3 separate regions of the Homo sapiens genome follow, and all the other regions are linked to region 1. Evidence: promoter capture Hi-C in 16 types of primary human blood cells and fetal thymus (Javierre and others, 2016). All regions are on one chromosome and are shown on one strand. The core of a region is centred on a gene start or on the middle of the fragment in contact, and the rest is flanking DNA. Distances in the headings are between cores, read along the strand shown.

Region 1 (2,700 bases), core at 169-2,668:
GCGAGACTCTGTCTCAAAAAAATAAAAAAAATAAATCATTGCCGCCTAGGCCGTGCATGGTGGCTCATGGCTGTAATCCCAGCACTTTGGGAGGCCGAGGCGGGTGGATCACCTGAGGTCAGGAGTTCCAGACCAGCCTGACCAACATGATGAAAGCCGTCTCTACTAAAAACACAAAATTAGCCGGGCATGGTGGTGCATGCCTGTAGTCCCAGCTACTTTGGAGGCTGAAGCAGGAGAATCGCTTGAACCGGGGAAGCGGAGGTTGCAGTGAGCCGAGATGGCACCAGTGCACTCCAGCCAGAGCAACAAGAGGGAGACTCCATCCCCCCAAAAAAACAACTTTGCTGCCTCATTTTAGCTCCTCTGCTTACCAACAGTGTGACCTTAAATAAATTACTTAACCAGACCCGGGCGCGGTGGCTCAGGCCTGTAATCCCAGCACTTTGGGAGGCTGAGGCAGGCGAATCATCTGAGGTCAGGAGTTCCAGACCAGCTAGGCCAACATGGTGAAACCTCGACTCTACTAAAAATACAAAATTAGCCGGGCGTGGTGGCGCATGCCTGTAATCCCAGCTACCCTGGAGGCTGAGGCAGGAGAATCACTTGAACCCGGGAGGCGGAGGTTGCAGCGAGCCGAGATCGCGCCATTGCACTCCAGCCTGGGCAAAAAGCAAAACTCCGTCTCAATAAATAAATAAATAAATAAATAAATAAATAAATAAATAGATAAAATAAAATTACTTAACCCAACTGTATTTACAGATCTTCACCGCAAAATGGGATTAAAAATTGAATCTACCTTAAGTATCTACTATAAGCATTAAATGACTGAGTACATGTTAAGGGCTTAGAAAAATAACTGACATTGCCATTGTCATTATTACTGAACCTGGGCGGTAAGAAGTTTTGCGCAAAGAAAGTGAGGACCACGCCCACCATGTCAAAGACTAAACGACCCAAAGCCTCAAGGAATCAGCTAGACTGTGTTAGGGAAAAATGAAGGGAGGGATGAGAATCAGTCGCTGCCATCCCTTTTCCTCACAGTTCCCACGATAGCCTAAGGCCCGGTAGGTGCGCCTCTCACCTGAACCGACGACCCCCTCCTGTTTCCATTGCTGCCGCTCAGCCTCAGTGGGGAATCCCCTCAGAATTGCCAGCTCCGGGGTCCACATCACCCCAGACACCGCTGCAGCCAAAACAGGCTCCCACGAGGGCCACACGGGAGTCAACAAAAGAAAGTGAAAACAGGAGAGTCCAAAGGCGCTGAAATCTAGTGGCGACAGTTACCGTAAATACACCTGCGGCCCTAGAATTCCATGTGCGGATACTACCTCAAGGAGGCGGCCATAACAGCAGCGCGGGGCACCCTGGGAAAAACACGCACGCTCTCTGGTCTGGCTTCCGCCTAGGAGAAGAACCCGAGCTTGAGTAAGGAGCCTGTTGGGTGGTTATGCCCCACCCCGGGGCGGGCAATAGGGGGAGTTGAGGGCGCGGTCGCGCTCAGCCCCGCCCCCAGTGGGACCGCTTCCAAGAACTGTGAACGTGGAAGTGAGTGTGCCTCCCACCGAGGGCTAGGGTTCAAATGCAACTCAAAACGGACGTCTTGGCCAAAGCAGTTTGATTAGAAGGGCTAGAGTTGTGATTCTTAAAGCATTTTGGGTTAGAACGCTCTCGACAACCCGATGAAAACCACAGTCCTTCGCGCAGAGTGCAGGTGGGCCCTTGCTCTCAGCCTAAGGGTACCCTCTCAGGGAATCACAGACCCTCTGACGTGGAGTCGGTGAAGCCCAGGTTGGAACCCCGTCAGCATAGCATGGGTCTTTCGGCGAATGAGCGTGTAAGGAAAGGATCTGGTTTTGACACTGCTCTACATGAATCATGGCCGGGTGGGAAATCTGCCCCTGCCGCTGGTGCAGGGAAGTTTTTGGAACACTGTCGGAACGCTGTAGAAGAGTGATCCCAGGGGTGATCACAAAGAAATTGCAAGGAGACAAACCAGCCTCCGCTGGTACCTTATTTGCACTTCTTTGAATCTTCCTAGCAGCACTCCAAAGAAACAGTTAGAGGGCGGGCGCGGTAGCTCACGCCTGTAATCTCAGCACTTTGGGAGGATGAAGCGGATGGATCACCTGAGGTCAGGAGTTCGAGACCAGCCTGGCCAATATGGTGAAACCCGTCTCTACTAAAAATACAAAAATTAGCCGGACGTAGTGGGGCACCCCTGTAAACCCAGCTACTCGGGACGGTGAGGCGGGGGAATTGCTTGAACCCGGGAGGCGGAGGTTTCAGTGAGCTGAGATGGTGCCACTGCACTCCAGCCTGGGCAATAGGAAAGAGGGAGGGAGGGAGGGAAGAAGGAAGGAAGGGAGGGAGGGAGGGAAGGAGGGAAGGAAAACAGGACTATGGCTTTGTCCCATTGGCTTGACACCTGTACTGAGATATGTCATGTAAGAGCCAGGAGAAAACTGCAGGGTAACTCTGACCACAAGAGCAAAAGCTCTCTGAAAAGAGGCTGACCCGGTACCCAGCTCCAAGGAAGAAGCTAAATAAATGTTAATTCACTTTCTTACTCAGTAAAGAGCCACTCCAGAATGTGAAGGGAGAGGAACTCAGCTCAGCTCATTTCAGCCATTGCCATCAGATACCAAAGGAAGCCGGACCTGACTGTGATTGGAGAAGAGCGGATGCCCTAAAATG
Region 2 (2,700 bases), core at 173-2,672, 560 kb after region 1:
CAGAAACATACATAGTTGTTTTAGGTTTTACTGTAAAGTGGTATGTTTAAGTTTACGCAATCCATTCATCAAACATTTCAACTTGGAAATTAAAGGCTACTTTGGAATACTGTTTTAATTAAAATCAAAGCAACAGGGGGAAAAGTTTTATGCTAAATATAACTTCATTGAAAAAGTATTCAGGAATCGTTGTACTGATAAAATGATTATCTTGATTAAAATGATGCAAATTCAACTGCAGTCATATGCAGCTATTTCTTTCAAAATTGTCACCATTTGTTCTTTTTTTCTGACACTACAATACTCTGCTTTCATTAAAAGCCAGTAAGGCGGCACTGCTTCTTCAATATCAAAACCTTTTGGAAACCTTGGTTCAGAGGAAGCTGCACACTCTTCACAGTGCTAGAAAGGATCAGTGTGGTCACTCTAGGACAAATGTCACTGTCATCAACACGTCTGGGTGTCTCATAGTGACCTGGGTCATGCAGAAGTGTGGGGGAAGGCTGGTGTCTGAAACAAAGTCGACAGCTACAGTGCCCTGAAAGGGGAGAGGTTTTAAGAATACTAGAAGATGAGGCTCCGACCTACGGGAAAGCAGTCTCCCGGGGCATATCAATTCCGGGGGTGCACCGTCCCCTCCCGCAGAAAAGGGACGCAGGTGTTGCCCTCCCCCGGCGACCCCACCGCCTTCTTCCCGGCGCCGCCGCCCCCTCCCCCAGCCCCCTAGTTACCTTTCTCATCCTCATCGATGCGCAGGGCAATGGAGATGTACTCGAAGGCCTGTTTGTGGAAGACTCGGACGCGCTCGGCCTCGCCGCCCGGCACCGGCGCCGGGGCCGAGGCCGAGGCAGGTGCTGGCGCGGCCCCGGAGCTCCTCTTGGCTGCCATGAGGGCGCGGGAGAAGCGCTGGCAGAGCCACACGAAGAGGAGCCCCAGGTGGAAGGCGACCAAACGCAGCAGCGCGAAGCCTACAAACAGCGGGTAGGAGAAATAGTACAGGTTCCGCTTATGCGGCGACTCGGGCGGAGGGGCCGGCCCGGCGGCGGGAGGGGCGGGGGCCAGGCAAGGGGGCGGAGGCCTGGGAGGCACCGGGTTGCTGGCGCCGCCGGAGCCTTTCTTCTTCCCTCGTCCACCCGGAGAATTCATTCACAGCTCTCACTGCCGCCGCCGCCATAACCCGCCTCCCGCAGACCGACGGGAACCAAGCGACGGCGGCAGCCACTGCTACGGCGGGGGCCACAGACCCCCGTGTGCCCGCCGGTCTCAGGAGCTCCGCACTGCCGCACGCTGCCCGCCGGCCCCGCCCCTTTCTCCTTCCTCGGCCAGGAGCACAACCCCTTCTCCTCCTGCAGTCGGTGGCTCGGGCCCCTCCCTTCCTGTCGCTGTCCTCTCCGCCGCCTGGTGGCTCCCAGCGGCGGCCGCGCACGCGCACGTCTTCCCGTGTTTTTCTCCGGCGCGCGCGCGCACGGCGCGTCTTTGTTGACCGGGGCCCCTGTACGCGTGTGCGGCCCCCGCCTCTCGGCTTTCCCACTCAACTACAGTTCCCAATGTGCAGTTCGGCTCACGTCGGCAGCCCTGGAGAGCTCCTGCCAGGAAGCCTTCGTAATCGATCCACGGAAGGGGGAATTGCGGCTTGGGGTCGCTCTGCTGGTTCGCTAGGCTCCTCTCTCAGTGTCGTCGTTTTCTTAGATTTCTTTCATCTTTTTCTGCCAGGCGACCTAAGTCTTCTCCGAAGGATAATTGGCCCATCTCAGAAGCAATGGATATCAATCTGGGAATTAAATTAGCCGGGCGTGGGGGCGCGCGCCTGTAGTCCCAGCTGGTTGGAAGGCTAAGGCCGGAGAATCGCTTGAACTCGGGAGGCAGAGGCTGCAAGTGAGCTGAGATCGCGCCACTGCACTCCAGCCTGGGCGACAGAGCGAGACTCCGTCTCCAGAAAAAATAAAATAAAAATTTAAAATCTGGGAATTATTTGAGAGGAAAGCAATTGTGAAGATAAGAAACTTCAGGTCACTGCAAACAACAGCAACAAAAATGTTAGCTCAGTGTGATGAGATCAACTAACCCAGGGGTTTAACTAAATTAGTGCATATTTAGATGTCTAATATGAAAGATAATTTATTTGAATAAGGGAAATCTTAGGTTTTGCATAGTTACCATCCCATAGTTTACTGAAGAATCTACACTTTTTTTTTAATCTACTCAGCATCCCTTCCTTTGGGAAACTACCTGCTTGTCTCTGCTCCCTGTATTCTAATGAGCTGCAAGCACAGAACCCAGACCGCAAAGGCGGAAGCAAACACTAGGTCAGTCAGATTCTCCTGGGACCTGGAATCTTGGCTGGAGACCCACCGAATAGAAAGTAACTGGAAACGAGTGCTCTTAAGAGCGGGTTTATCAATGCATCACATTGAGCTCCCCCAGAGCTGCTGGGTTCCTGACTGGTCACTTGGTTATGTAATCTATCCAATACACTAATCAGTCTGTTTCTCTGTTTCTCTCTTCCTCTCTCCTTTCCCCCTTCCTTCCTTTCGTCTTTTCCTCTCTCTCCCTCTCTCTCTATCTCCACGTCTTTTTTCTCTTCTCTTTCTCTTTTTACTTGAGTTAGCCATAATTATTTCTTGTTTCCTAAAACTAAGGAAGCCAAACTGATAAAAAGACTCCGTTATTTACAATGTGAGGTTTCCAAATGCCCCATGA
Region 3 (2,700 bases), core at 100-2,599, 770 kb before region 1:
CACATTAAGGACAAAATGGTGGAGTACAACCTTCCAGGGGCACACCACCAGGAAAGGGAAGAAAGCCTCAGATGGGCATATGTACAGCTTCCTCAACACTGTGTGTGCTCACTTCCCAAGTGTAAGGAGGGTGCTGTGTGTGCCGGCAGCCCACCCTAAGGGAAGAAGCATGGAAAGGGGCCAGCCTGTAAAATCCTAGCTAGGTCAAGGTTAAACACTGCACTTGGCCTTCAGGTGCCCACTTGGGTCTCTTCCAAGTGAACTTTCCTTTCTTTCCTGCTCTAAAGCCTTTTTAAATCAACTTCCATTTCTGCTCTGAAACTTGCCTGGTCTCTTTTTCTGCCTTATACCCCTCAGTCAAATTCTTCTGAGGAGGCAAGAACTGAGGTTGCTGCAGACCTATATGGATTCGTCACCGGTAACTCAGACACCTTCTATGGGTGACACAAGGACAGCAGTCATACTGGATTAGGGCCATTCCAATGACCTCATTATCCTTAATTACCTCATTAAAGATCCGATCTCCAAATCTAGTCACTTTCTGAAGTATCAGAGGTTAAAATTCCCACATATGAATGTTAGGGGAAACAATTTAGCCCATAACAAGATCTAACAAATTTAATGATTAACTTGTAAAAGACACTACATTAACAGAAGACCACTGGAAAAGATAAAAGTGGGGAGAGTGGGATACAACTTATACACATGTACTCATTGACAATTACTCTCAGGTAGAATTTTTTCTACAAAAATGGTGATTTATTTAACATACAATGGTAGATATATTGGGGATCATCAAATTTTTAAAAATTTTTGTTGGGCTTACTTTACATATTACAATACTAACGTAAGCTTATAAACTCTTCCATTTCAGTGAAGGAAAGGGATCCAATTAACACCTGCTAGCAGCTTGGCTAAGAACGGACATTAAAATCAGACAAAACACTGAAAATATAAAGTACTTTTCTCCAAATGTGTATACAAAGTTTTGGAACAAAATCACTGCCTGCTCCACAGGACAGACAATTTGAATTTCAAAAATGCTCCAGGCCGGGAATTGCATAACCCTGTGTAACAATACTTATAATACAGCTTAACAATATTGTATCGAAGACTTTTTCATTTGAGATTTTTAAAAAACTGAAGTAAAAGAAAAACAGTAGCCAAGGAACTGCACAACCAAAAAATGAAAATTATATAAAATATTTCCACCACTATTTAAATGCCAAATTTAATCAAGCAATAGTAAAAAAACAAAACAACATAATAATACAACCTTCTGTTTAAAATAACAGCACTGTTCCACCTCTCTTCCATTGAATTTTACATATGAACAGACTATATATACTGGTTTTTTAGAGAAATGTCCATTTGGTCTGCCACACCTATCGGGCTCATCCTAAATCCTCTCATTGTCTTCAGAGGACTTGCAATTCCATGCTGTTTCTGTATTTCCAGCCTTCCGGGGTAGGTGCAATGTCTCAAGTATAATACATTTCTCCCTTTTCCTTTACACAGTGCAGAGTATATGGGCTTAGGTTATGTAGATTCTGTTTCACTCCAGGTCACTGTCTTTCTCTAAATTCAAGGCGGTATTCAACGGAGTGCAGTAGTTTGGCTTGTCAGAAGGCACGTAGCCTGGCAGACACAAACACTTGTAGGAACCATCGGTGTTAATGCACTTGGCATTCTTGCAGAGAGACATCCGGTTGTTCAACTCATCGCATTCATTTACATCTGCAATAAGTCAAGCCATGCAGGTAAACAATCTTGGATATTATTCTGTGAGGACACATAACCTGAGGCTTACCTGAGGCCCTTCCCCCGACCACCCCAAGGAAGCTTTCTCGTCATTGCTTCAGTCACAGACAAGACGAAGATGACTTTTTTGAGATCTTAAAGAGGCAGATTATCAGGGAGGTTCTAGAACTTCTTTCACTGTTATCTAGCAAAACATGAGCATTTTGTGAGCTTGACATTTTCTAGTAGAACCTCAAGGAAGTTGGAGGAACTATATTACTTCCAAATTCCTTCCCATAGGTATGGAGGAACTGCTAGATTTGTCAAGAGGAACCAGATACCTACGCAGAGGCCTCTCCATACAGCCTGTCTAAAGCCTTCCATAACATTCACAGACCTCCTTCTACATGAGACCCATTTAGGCTCTCACTCACTTGAAACATCTGTTAAGAAGCTAGGTTACCTATTTTACAGACACACCATGGATTAAAACTAACAAAAGCAAAGTGGGCAAAAGGACTGCTTCAAGATGGAGAAGAGGCCAGGCGTGGTGGCTCACGCCTGTAATCCCAGCACTTTGGGAGGCCAAGGTGGGCGGATCACGAGGTCAGGAGATTGAAACCATCCTGGCTAACACGGTGAAATCCCGTCTCTACTAAAAATACAAAAAAAAAAAAAAAAAAAAATTAGCCGGGTGTGGTGGCGGGTGCCTGTAGTCCCAGCTACTCAGGAGGCTGAGGCAGGAGCATTGCTTGAACCTGGGAGGCAGAAGTTGCAGTGAGTCAAGATCACCCCACTGCACTCCAGCCTGGGCGACAAGAGTAAAACTCCATCTCAAAAAAAAAAAAAAAAAAGAATTGTGGTAAAATACACAGAACATATTTACCATTTTAACCATTTTTAAGTATATAGTCCAGTGGCATTAAGTATATTCATACTGTACTTAATGTACATCTCCAG

What was found. Contacts are between HindIII fragments. The CHiCAGO score rates a contact against its expected background, and 5 or more counts as called.
Region 2: a contact is called between the fragment with the promoter of SPAST here and the fragment with the promoter of TTC27 in region 1, in 13 of 17 cell types (total CD4 T cells, activated CD4 T cells, naive CD8 T cells and 10 more). The highest score is 13.7, in total CD4 T cells.
Region 3: a contact is called between a fragment that was not itself captured here and the fragment with the promoter of TTC27 in region 1, in 4 of 17 cell types (M2 macrophages, M0 macrophages, naive B cells and 1 more). The highest score is 11.5, in M2 macrophages.

Annotation. Positions count from the first base shown.
Region 1 is chr2:32,626,768-32,629,467 of GRCh38, reverse strand. It overlaps TTC27 (tetratricopeptide repeat domain 27), which reads right to left and starts at 1,418. Exons shown (of 20, transcript NM_017735.5): 1 at 1,088-1,418. The coding sequence starts at 1,175. LOC124905985 (a long non-coding RNA gene) reads left to right here and starts at 2,690. Exons shown (of 3, transcript XR_007086273.1): 1 at 2,690-2,700. RefSeq lists a silencer at 929-1,058 and enhancers at 1,309-1,368, 897-1,556, 1,779-1,838, 1,557-2,218. The HindIII fragment of the contact is 6,273 bases long and covers 1-2,700 here.
Region 2 is chr2:32,062,278-32,064,977 of GRCh38, reverse strand. It overlaps SPAST (spastin), which reads right to left and starts at 1,422. Exons shown (of 17, transcript NM_014946.4): 1 at 732-1,422. The coding sequence starts at 1,146. RefSeq lists silencers at 559-688, 719-1,138, 1,199-1,338 and enhancers at 710-1,510, 1,559-1,628. The HindIII fragment of the contact is 15,667 bases long and covers 1-2,700 here.
Region 3 is chr2:33,397,401-33,400,100 of GRCh38, reverse strand. LTBP1 (latent transforming growth factor beta binding protein 1) reads right to left here. Exons shown (of 34, transcript NM_206943.4): 34 at 592-1,737. The coding sequence ends at 1,556. Among named protein-coding and RNA genes, the nearest start is that of MIR4430, 20 kb to the left of the region's middle. The HindIII fragment of the contact is 990 bases long and covers 855-1,844 here.